2 separate regions of the Homo sapiens genome follow, and region 1 is linked to region 2. Evidence: promoter capture Hi-C in 16 types of primary human blood cells and fetal thymus (Javierre and others, 2016). All regions are on one chromosome and are shown on one strand. Each heading gives the region's core, a stretch centred on a gene start or on the middle of the fragment in contact. The rest is flanking DNA. Distances are from core to core; before and after follow the strand shown.

Evidence for each region. The method cuts DNA at HindIII sites, captures the fragments that hold promoters and counts their contacts. A CHiCAGO score of 5 or more calls a contact.
Region 1: the fragment with the promoter of KRT1 here is called in contact with the fragment with the promoter of KRT72 in region 2 in 1 of 17 cell types (erythroblasts); the score reaches 5.7 in erythroblasts.

What each region holds. Positions count from the first base shown.
Region 1 is chr12:52,678,836-52,684,035 of GRCh38, reverse strand. KRT1 (keratin 1) reads left to right here and starts at 3,629. Exons shown (of 9, transcript NM_006121.4): 1 at 3,629-4,278. The coding sequence starts at 3,688. The HindIII fragment of the contact is 12,025 bases long and covers 3,089-5,200 here.
Region 2 is chr12:52,599,384-52,604,080 of GRCh38, reverse strand. KRT72 (keratin 72) reads left to right here and starts at 2,618. Exons shown (of 9, transcript NM_080747.3): 1 at 2,618-3,054. The coding sequence starts at 2,629. The HindIII fragment of the contact is 8,078 bases long and covers 1-4,697 here.

The sequences.
Region 1 (5,200 bases), core at 2,380-4,879, 79 kb before region 2:
AAAAACAGATTCAGGACCAAATGCTCAGGAATTGAGATCTTTGGTGCCCCAGAGCTTGACTATGGGTAGGGATTTGTGGCAAGTTGCCGAGGCAACCAGAAGACCTTTCAGAAAAGAGAAGAGTAGAAGTGGGCTTGGAAGACAGAGAGGAACAGGGATGGAAAGGGAAGAAGAGGGTTGATCAGTCTGGGCAAAGCACGAGAGTGAAGGGGTCAAGGCGTGAGGCCGGGGGAGTGGGTGAGCAGGGTAAGATGTAGGTGGTGCTGGTGGTGAGAGCAGGCCAATGACAGAAGGAGCCCATGTGATGCGGCGGGCTTGGACTCTGGAGTGAGGCAAGCGTGGCTTGTCAGTTACCTGCTGGATGACTTTGGGCACATATTTCAACCTCTATAAACCTAAGATGCCTTTTCTTTAAAATGGGGCTAAGAGCTCCCACGACGCAGACTTTGTGTGGTATTTAAATGCAATGTGGCTCCTAACAGCATAGTTGCTGCCTGTAGATGTTAGTGTCTCTTTCTTTCTCATTTTGTCTTTATTTCATAAATGCACAGTACATAAGTAAGCCAGGAGAGAGTGTGTGGCTCACACCTTTCCTGCATGTGGTTCTTCATATCCCACACACCCACACTGATCCTGGGGACATCACAGGAGATGACGGGCCTGGTCTGGCAGCACTGCAGCTCCAGCTCTGTTGGGCTGCCTCGAAAGTGGGCAGTGGAAAAAGAAAAGGAGTTTGATTCAACAATTGGAAGAGTCTCAGGAATTGACTTATGACTTGGACACTTTTTTTTTTTTTTTTTTTTTTTTTTACTTTTTTGGGCCTGTGCTCTCACTTCTCTGTGAGGCAGGTTAGATGATGTGACCTTTGAGGCCCCATGGATGAGAACATTCTGTAATTCTCTGTGTACTTGTTTATAGGGCCCAGTTCCACTTGCCTGTCTTTGAGCCTCTTCCCGGTTCAGGGAGGAATGTCACTTGAATTGAAATCAGAAAACCCAGATTCTGCTTCCAGATGTGTCTTTTCCTAGCCGGAGTGTCTAGAGGAAGCCACTTAATCTCTGAGAATCAGTTTTCTGTTTCATGAAATGGGTTGAGAACAGCTTGATTGCCTAGTTCTCAGGGCTCTTGTGGGATGCTCTTTGCATATGTGTTTGGTGGGGTGAGCTGTGCAAATGTAAGCTATGGTGAGGTTTATGGCACTTATTCCTGCTAGTCCTGCATTTCTCCCTTCTCACAGGAGCACCTGGGGTATGTTTTGCAGCTAAGTTGTCTACCAATTCCCTGACCATTCATTCAAACCTTTGATTTTTCTGTATGTCAGTTTCTTAGTTCAAAGATGGGAGTGTGGATCACTGCCAAGGTCTGTTTTTGGCTGGCACACACATGCACACAAACATGTGTGCACACAAACATGTGTGCACACACATACTCACACCCCTCCAAAATGCTAGAAGGAATCGATTGTGCAGAACAATATGTCTCATGAGGGAGTATGCTGAACTAAAATAATTTTGATTGCTTGTCAGAAAATGATTAGGCAACAGTCATTACCATGCCAAGACTGTCCCAGTCTCCATTGTTCCTAACAAGACCTGAATTACTCATTCCCTAAAGAGATGGTTGGTTTAGCAGCCGAAGGATTTTAGTGCTAGGACAGAGTCCCAGACAGCAGTGCCACAGTGATGGCGAGGGAGAGGAGTAGCAGGGGAGCGGTGAGGGGCACTTTCTGGAGGAGGGTATAGGGCAAAAACTGGGAGGAGAAGAGGGACAAGGTTCAATAGCGGAGTGCAATGGAGAGGACCGACACAGCCAGCCCGATTCAGAGCCACAGAGTAATGGGACCAGATGATCTTCACAGACTCCCTTTCTCCCATAGATCTTGCACACCATAGTGGAGACTTCCCATGTACATCTATGGTTTGCCACTTACAGAGTTACTTGGAGCCAGCTGAAGTTAGAGCTGGCTTCTCCCCTTTGAGTCTTCAATTCTGTGTTTATGTGCAGGCCCGGGGACCATGCCAGGCTTCTAAGAAGTCTTCGAATGAAAGTCTGCTTGGGCTTCTAGTGTGTCCAGATCTCAGTGCCACTATTATCCACTGATATTGATCAAGTGCTGCTCTCCAGGAAGACCCCTGAGGTTTCCTGGTCCATTGCAATGCATGCTGGGTACTCTTGCACTTGGATGGAAGTAAAATCTCCTCACTAAACTCTGTGCCACCAAAATCTCCTTCTCAGTGTGAATTGAAGAAACATTTTCCAAGACTTGCATGTGCCAGGAGCCAAGGACTCAGAGTGATAAAACAGGCCTTCTGCCCTCAGAGCTCTCTGTGGTGGGGCGCTTCCTGTGCTGTCTGGCTTTACACACAGCAGGCAGAATGACTTGAATTCGGCTGCTGTGCTGTCGTACAACATGCTGTTTAGGATCTTGCACATGATAGCTAGGTATTCTTGCTTCAAATCGCAGGCACCCCACTTACCAACTGTGTAGACTTGATCACGTTATTCAACCCCTGTGTCTCTGCTTCCTCATTTTACAAATGGGGAGAAAAATAGCATCTATCTCAAAGTTGTGAAAATTAAGCAAGTTAATACATATGTGCTACGTAGAACAGTGCCTGGTACATGGTCAGTTTTTGATACATGTTAGGTATTATCATTATTATCACCTCCAGAAACAATTTAAACTTCTCATATAAGGCTCTCCAGACACCTCTCATTGTCTTCCCTTCCAAATCTGCATTTATCTCTCTCTCTTTGCAGTCCAGTGTGAGGCTTGAATCACCTATCAAGCCTCACCTCCACCCCTGTGCTTTACAAAATGTCCTAGAGCTTCTATTTACTCGTCTCACTGCTCTGTGGGCTTTTTCACTCAAGGGCGTTTGCATGCTATCCATTGCTACCTGTTTTCTATTGCTGGTGTCTGTCTCCTGCTCTATCTTTGAAGAAAAGAAACAAGAAAAGGAATAACTGAGAAACAGAGAAAAAAAATGTCTCTCCCTTCTGGTTCTTCCAGACCACCCACTCATCCATCTTGTTCAATGACAGCTTCTCTTCCTTTAATTAATCACTGTGGTATATTTATAAAGCTTATATTTATGAAAGACCTTTTAATTTTTTAGTTATTAAAGCCCTTTCTCTTTGTCAGGTTGTAACTGAGTGAGCTCTGGAGTTTGGAAAGAAGATCTTAGAAATGGGCCAGAGAGCTCCTTCTGAGATCCAAGCACGGGGAATTGCACCTGCTGTGCATGGTAAGAGAGTGTGCTTGGTAGCTCACAAAGGCAAGGTGAGAATAGAAACTTTCATGCCTTTTTGATGGGGGTTATGAAATCCTACCAAGAAACACCAGGTATCAGATGTGGGGTCCTGTTTTCCCAAAGCCACAAATGCTTGAAGGAAGATCTTGTGTGATAAAATAATTACCACATGAACCAATCTTGCATGCACAGCAATTTTGAGAGCCCATCCTGGGAGCTAGGTGTGTAGTGTTTATCGTATTGTTGAGGCTCGTAAAAATCTTGTATGGCTGCAGGCAAGCCAAACCCTTGACAGGCACTGCATCTCCGCTGACTCTAGAAGACCAAGCCCAATTTCTTCCCTGTATATAAGGGGAAGTCTCTATGCTTGGGGTAGAGGAGTGTTTAGCTCCTTCCCTTACTCTACCTTGCTCCTACTTTTCTCTAAGTCAACATGAGTCGACAGTTTAGTTCCAGGTCTGGGTACCGAAGTGGAGGGGGCTTCAGCTCTGGCTCTGCTGGGATCATCAACTACCAGCGCAGGACCACCAGCAGCTCCACACGCCGCAGTGGAGGAGGTGGTGGGAGATTTTCAAGCTGTGGTGGTGGTGGTGGTAGCTTTGGTGCTGGTGGTGGATTTGGAAGTCGGAGTCTTGTTAACCTTGGTGGCAGTAAAAGCATCTCCATAAGTGTGGCTAGAGGAGGTGGACGTGGTAGTGGCTTTGGTGGTGGTTATGGTGGTGGTGGCTTTGGTGGTGGTGGCTTTGGTGGTGGTGGCTTTGGTGGAGGTGGCATTGGGGGTGGTGGCTTTGGTGGTTTTGGCAGTGGTGGTGGTGGTTTTGGTGGAGGTGGCTTTGGGGGTGGTGGATATGGGGGTGGTTATGGTCCTGTCTGCCCTCCTGGTGGCATACAAGAAGTCACTATCAACCAGAGCCTTCTTCAGCCCCTCAATGTGGAGATTGACCCTGAGATCCAAAAGGTGAAGTCTCGAGAAAGGGAGCAAATCAAGTCACTCAACAACCAATTTGCCTCCTTCATTGACAAGGTGAGTTTCTCTCTCATTGCACTGGTAGGGCTGCCGCTGGTCCACTTGGGATTGGTGCAGTCAAAACACAGTAGGTTTGAACCTCAAGTTTCCATGTTTACATGATTAAAAGGATGTTTTGTGGAATGGTCTCCTAGGAGATATGTTAGATGTATGCTTGTGAATGGTGTTAATGACTCTCTCTTTGACAAAGGGTTCGTGGTCGACCTAAAGGTGGGTCAGTGTGACATTAACATTTAAGTGCTTTTTATTCAGCTCTTGAGCGGAATTGGGACTCATATCTGTTGAATGAAGATAATAGAAATGGGGCTAACTGAACTTTCCAGGGTGCAAGTGAGAACCCTGGAAAGGTCTTCCTAACCATAGAAAGGGAGTTGAGTGTGAACATAGTATAGAGTGTTATTGTAGCAGAAAACATGTGGTCAGTCAGTGCCAAACATCTTTTGCTGTCAGAGGGGAGCTCTGCCTTCTAATAATTTTACATTGGTACTGGATGAGGCTAGAGTTTTTTTATACTAATATCTCCAAAAATCAGCTCTAAAAAACTCAGATAAACCATTTTTTTAATTTTTTGCTTAATCATTAATAGTGCCAATCCAAGGTTATCCACAACAAATTTCAAATCCAATTTTGAATTTTCCTGATATACTTTTGAAATGTGTGTGTGTCCTGGGGATGCAAACCAGTTTTTATGGTAATATACCTAACAAAATTTTGGAAGGCAAATCTCTTAAATACCATGCACCTATTTCAAAACATAATTGCAATAATTCTGTATGCGCTTTGCTATTGGTATTTGTTTAGTTACTCCCTTCCAAGCCCTCTCTGAATTAACAAGTTGGGTTTTATTATGCAGATGATATTAACTTGATCATCTTCTTCCTATTTCTCTGTCATGGTCAGAAGATAGGAATTGAGGTTC
Region 2 (4,697 bases), core at 1,369-3,868:
CATAGGGGTACATTTGTTACAACTGATGAACTTACACTTATGCAGCATTATCACCTCAAGTCCCTGGTTTACACTGGTGTTCACTGGGAAGTCTGTGGGTTTGGACAAATGTATAATGACATGTAGTCATCATTACAGTACTGTACAGAATAGTTCACTGCCCTAAAATTGCTCTAGCACTAAGCATGTTAATGGGCCTAGAAAGTCCTGCAATAAGATGCCTGCTTCATTTTTTTTTAAACCAAGCACAGAATCCATTCCCATATCTTTTTTTCCCATGATACCTATTAACTTCCCAAGAAGTAGTGTTACAGGGCAAGGAGACCCAGTTTAACCAGCAATGCATTTTCAATTCTCAGCCTAGAGTGGTTTCATCCGTCTTTTGTAGTAAAGATCTGATTTCTAAGGGCAATGTTCCTTGTCTGGTTTACTAATCCAGGGGTTGCTTTAACCCAAGAACTAATGACAGAGGTGGTCACCAAGGCCTGAGGTGACACCGTAAGCTGCTGTCAGAGGCAGAGGCAATGAGAACCCCTCCTCCCAGGCCTCAACCCCCTTTGATCTGCTGACATCCCCACACATCTGAGGCCTTTGAAATCTGCATGTGTCACTTGTGTCTCCTCATGATCTGTAATAAAGGTGATTCAGGGGTTGAGGAATTCCTTATTCATCCAGCCAGTCAACCCCTCATAGGAAGATGAGAAAAGGTCATCTTACAGTTCCCTAACCCTGGGCAGAAGAGCCCTGGTCCCAGGATATCTCAACTCCTTAGAAAATTTCTAGGAAGAAAAAAAAAATTATTTCAAAGACACCCTTTGTCAGTCAATCCTACGTAAAAATTCTCCTCTTTCAGTGTAATCCATTCCTTGCTTTTCTATTCTCAATGGCTGGAATAAATAAATTCATTTTTGTGCTTGTGGAAAAAAAACTGGCTAAAATTACGGGGTAGAGGGAAAATCTCATGTAATAATAAAAAACATAACCTTGATCTTCTTGAAGGGTCTGCTGTCACCCAGCCACACTGACACTGCCCTTCTCCTCTTCAGAGGGAAGGGACTACAGCCCCTCCTCTGAGGCAGCACTGAGAGCCCACCCTCTCTCCCACCTAGGACACCCAGATGCCGTTATCTGTTCATCTGTGATCGGTGCCATCTCCAGCGCTTAACAATGCCCTCACAACTTTGTTCCCCGTGGAGTAAACGCTTCGGCTGTTATTATGTCCTGTCATTGGCCCAGTGGAGGCTATGTCAGCCAATTACCCCCAGGTACCATTTAACCAACCCATGAGGTCCCCAAGGGGAACCCAGCCTTCAGGGTATCACTGAAGGTGCAGTAACAAGCCTTGCCCTAAGCACTCTGCTGTTTCACAATCATCCTAAATGTCCCTTTGGCCAAGGCCTGGGCTGAGCACTGGGGGAGCAGAGGAGGGAAGGGTGAATCCAGGGGGCCCTGTCAATCTGATAGAGGAAATGGAACACACACCCAGGACTCTGGCAGCTTAAGAAATAAGAGCAATGAAATAATCCCACCTGCATGCCAGAGGAACAGGAGAGCTGTTGCTAAGAGAGGAGGAGACTTGAAGGCAGCTTAAGTTTGAGAAAAGGAAATCGGGTTAGGTGGAAGAAGGAGCCTCTGTAGCTTAAAGGGAATGAAGTTCTAGAATCTAGTTCTTGGTTTTAGATCTGAAGAGTCTTGACCTCTTCCTAATAACTGATCACATTTTGATGCTGAATCAGAAATGACTGGGTGGCAAATGACCTGAGCAGAGGTTTGCTGGATGGGATAAATAAGCCTCTTCTGCTATTAAAAGAAAACAAAAATGAAAACAACCGAAAGCCTTAGGAAACACCATCTGCTAAACCATGCCTGAGTCTTCCTGTACCACCTCCCCAGGCCTTCTTCCCTCCCTCCCAGATAGCATGGTCCCCATTCTTAGTCCAGAAATGCTTAGTGGAGAAATCTTTTCGCTCTGGTCCAAAGTCAACCCTCAACACTTGTGACCAGAGGTCTCTGTGTCCTGCCTTCTCCAACAGACTGAGAGGTCTCTGCAGACGGGGCCAAAATCTCCTCCTTCTGAACTTCCTTCTTGCACAAGGGACAGAGCTGTCCTCATCCAGAAGCCTGGGAGGCAGGAGGAGGACAGGCTAAGGATGATTTTCTGCGATAGTCTTGACTCTATTCATGGCCTTCTGAAGCAGAAGCAGCCTGGACTTCTGCTTCACACACCTCCGTCTCCCCAGACACACACCCAGAGGGTCAGCCCCACTGGAAGTTTCCAGGGGTGATCTTGGGAGTGATAACCCCAGTAATTGGAGGCCAGCAGGTGGAGATAAGGTCGCTAAGCCATGATAATGCAGGAGGTGAGCCAAGTAAATGCTGGGTTCTGGGTCACTTTACAGGGATTCATGGGGAGTTCACGGTGGAACAGACAAAAATCTCGGTGAGTGCATGGTAATTTCCTACATGAAGAACCCAAGAGGCCTCAAGGGATCTAAAAGGTGTTGTCGACATACAAATTAGGCTGACTCCAGCCAGCCAGGCTATTTAAGGGGCGAGCTGGGCCGAGAACGCAGCGGCTGTTTGCGCCCCTTCTGCCTCCCGCGCGGCCAGCACCGGTACTTGCGAGCCATGAGCCGCCAACTGACCCATTTCCCCCGCGGGGAGCGCCTGGGCTTCAGCGGTTGCTCCGCGGTCCTCTCTGGCGGGATCGGCAGCAGCTCCGCCTCATTCCGGGCCCGGGTCAAGGGCTCGGCCTCCTTTGGCAGCAAGAGCCTCTCCTGCCTTGGGGGCAGCCGAAGCCTGGCGCTCAGCGCTGCTGCACGGCGGGGCGGCGGCCGCCTGGGCGGCTTCGTGGGCACCGCCTTCGGCAGCGCCGGGCTGGGGCCCAAGTGTCCCTCCGTGTGCCCACCCGGGGGCATCCCTCAGGTCACCGTCAACAAGAGCCTCCTGGCCCCGCTCAACGTGGAGATGGACCCCGAGATCCAGAGGGTGCGCGCCCAGGAGCGGGAGCAGATCAAGGCGCTAAACAACAAGTTCGCCTCCTTCATCGACAAGGTGAGTCCTCGGGCATTGGCCTGTCCCTGCGTTGGGCGCATGTGCACAGTGGTGCTGGCTCTGCCACTGGCGAGCTGTGTGGGAGCGTGGGCGGGTCATAACCTCTCCGAGCCTCCCTTTTCCATTTGTAAAATGGGCACAATAATGGGTCTTACTCCAGTGGGTTGCGATGAGGCTTAATTGGGATGTTTACGAAGTGCTCAGAACAGTGCCTGGCACATACTTCCAATAAACAGGATGTATTAGCCCATTTTCATGCTGCTGATAAAGACATACCCGAGACTGGGAAAAAAAAAAAGAGGTTTCATTGGACTTACAGTTCTCCATGGCTGGGGAGGTCTCAGAATCATAACGGGAGGCCAAAGTCACGTCTTATATGGCGGCGGCCAGAGAAAAATGAGGCAGAAGCAAAAACGGAAACCCCTGATAAACGCATCAGATCTCGTGATACTTATTCACTATTAGGAGAATAGCAGGAGAAAGACCGGCCCCTATGATTCATTTACCTCCCCCCTGGGTCCCTCCCACAACACGTGGGAATTCTGGGAGACTTAATTCAAGTTGAGATTTGGGTGGGGACACAGCCAAAACGTATCAAGGACCTTCATTTCTTTCTTGCATGAGACAAGACTGTGAGAAGGGAGGGGTCAGGATGTCCAAGGAATGGGCACTTTGAGAGCTCCCAATATCAGAAGAGGAGATGGGACCCACATTCAGGGCAGGGCATTAGGAACAGAGGCCAAGAGACGTTGCAGGACATGGTGCTTGGTGCTTGAGGAGTGGGGTAAGTGTGTAGCCAGGAAGATGATAGAGGAGGTGAGAGAAAAGGGCCAGAAAACTGAAGGGTGAGGCTGAGGAGGCACTTGGAAAGAGTGCATGTAAAGTTACAGGTGTGTGCTGAGGGTGGGGCATCCAGAAATTGGGGTAATAGGGAAGTTGTCTCTGGAGCTTCTGAGGCAATGACCCCAGTGAGTGGAGAGGAGACAGGGAATGGACTTCTCTTGTCTCCACCTGGATGGAAGGTCTAGACGGTGAGTGATAAGGGGACAGCCTGATAACAATAGCTGACATTTATGGTGCCGTCCCAAGTGATTCTCATTTACAATCACAACCCATGATTCTGTTGTTGTTCTGCCTTGCAGATGAGGATATTAAGACATGGGAGGCTAAGAAATGAGCTCACCTTGGACAGGACAGTTGGTGGTGGACCGAGTGTCACCACTATGCTAGGGAAGAGGAATTGAGGTGGCGGGAGGGCACAGGTCTGCATGGAAGAAACACAGCAGCTATTCCAGAGGCCAGAGCATTCTCTTGCTCTTTTATGTCTGTTGTTCCCTAGCATGTTTCCTTCTGCCCCTCAAGCTGAAAGATAGGTGAGAAGAGGAATGCTGGTGTGTGGCAGAGGGCTTGGAGTTATTGAGTCTAAAAATGTGCACCCTGGTCAAGTATGAAGGAACTTTGTGAAGATGTGGTAACTTGCTGTGAACAACAAAGAAATGAACAAACCAAGTGCAATTTAGGCTACACAACAGGAGGAACGCTCTAAATGCCAGTGTGCTTTCCAATGTCACTCCCCAGTCCCTGTTTCTCCCCTGCTCCCCATTTCTCTTTACTCAGAAAACACCAGCATTTATAGCATGAGA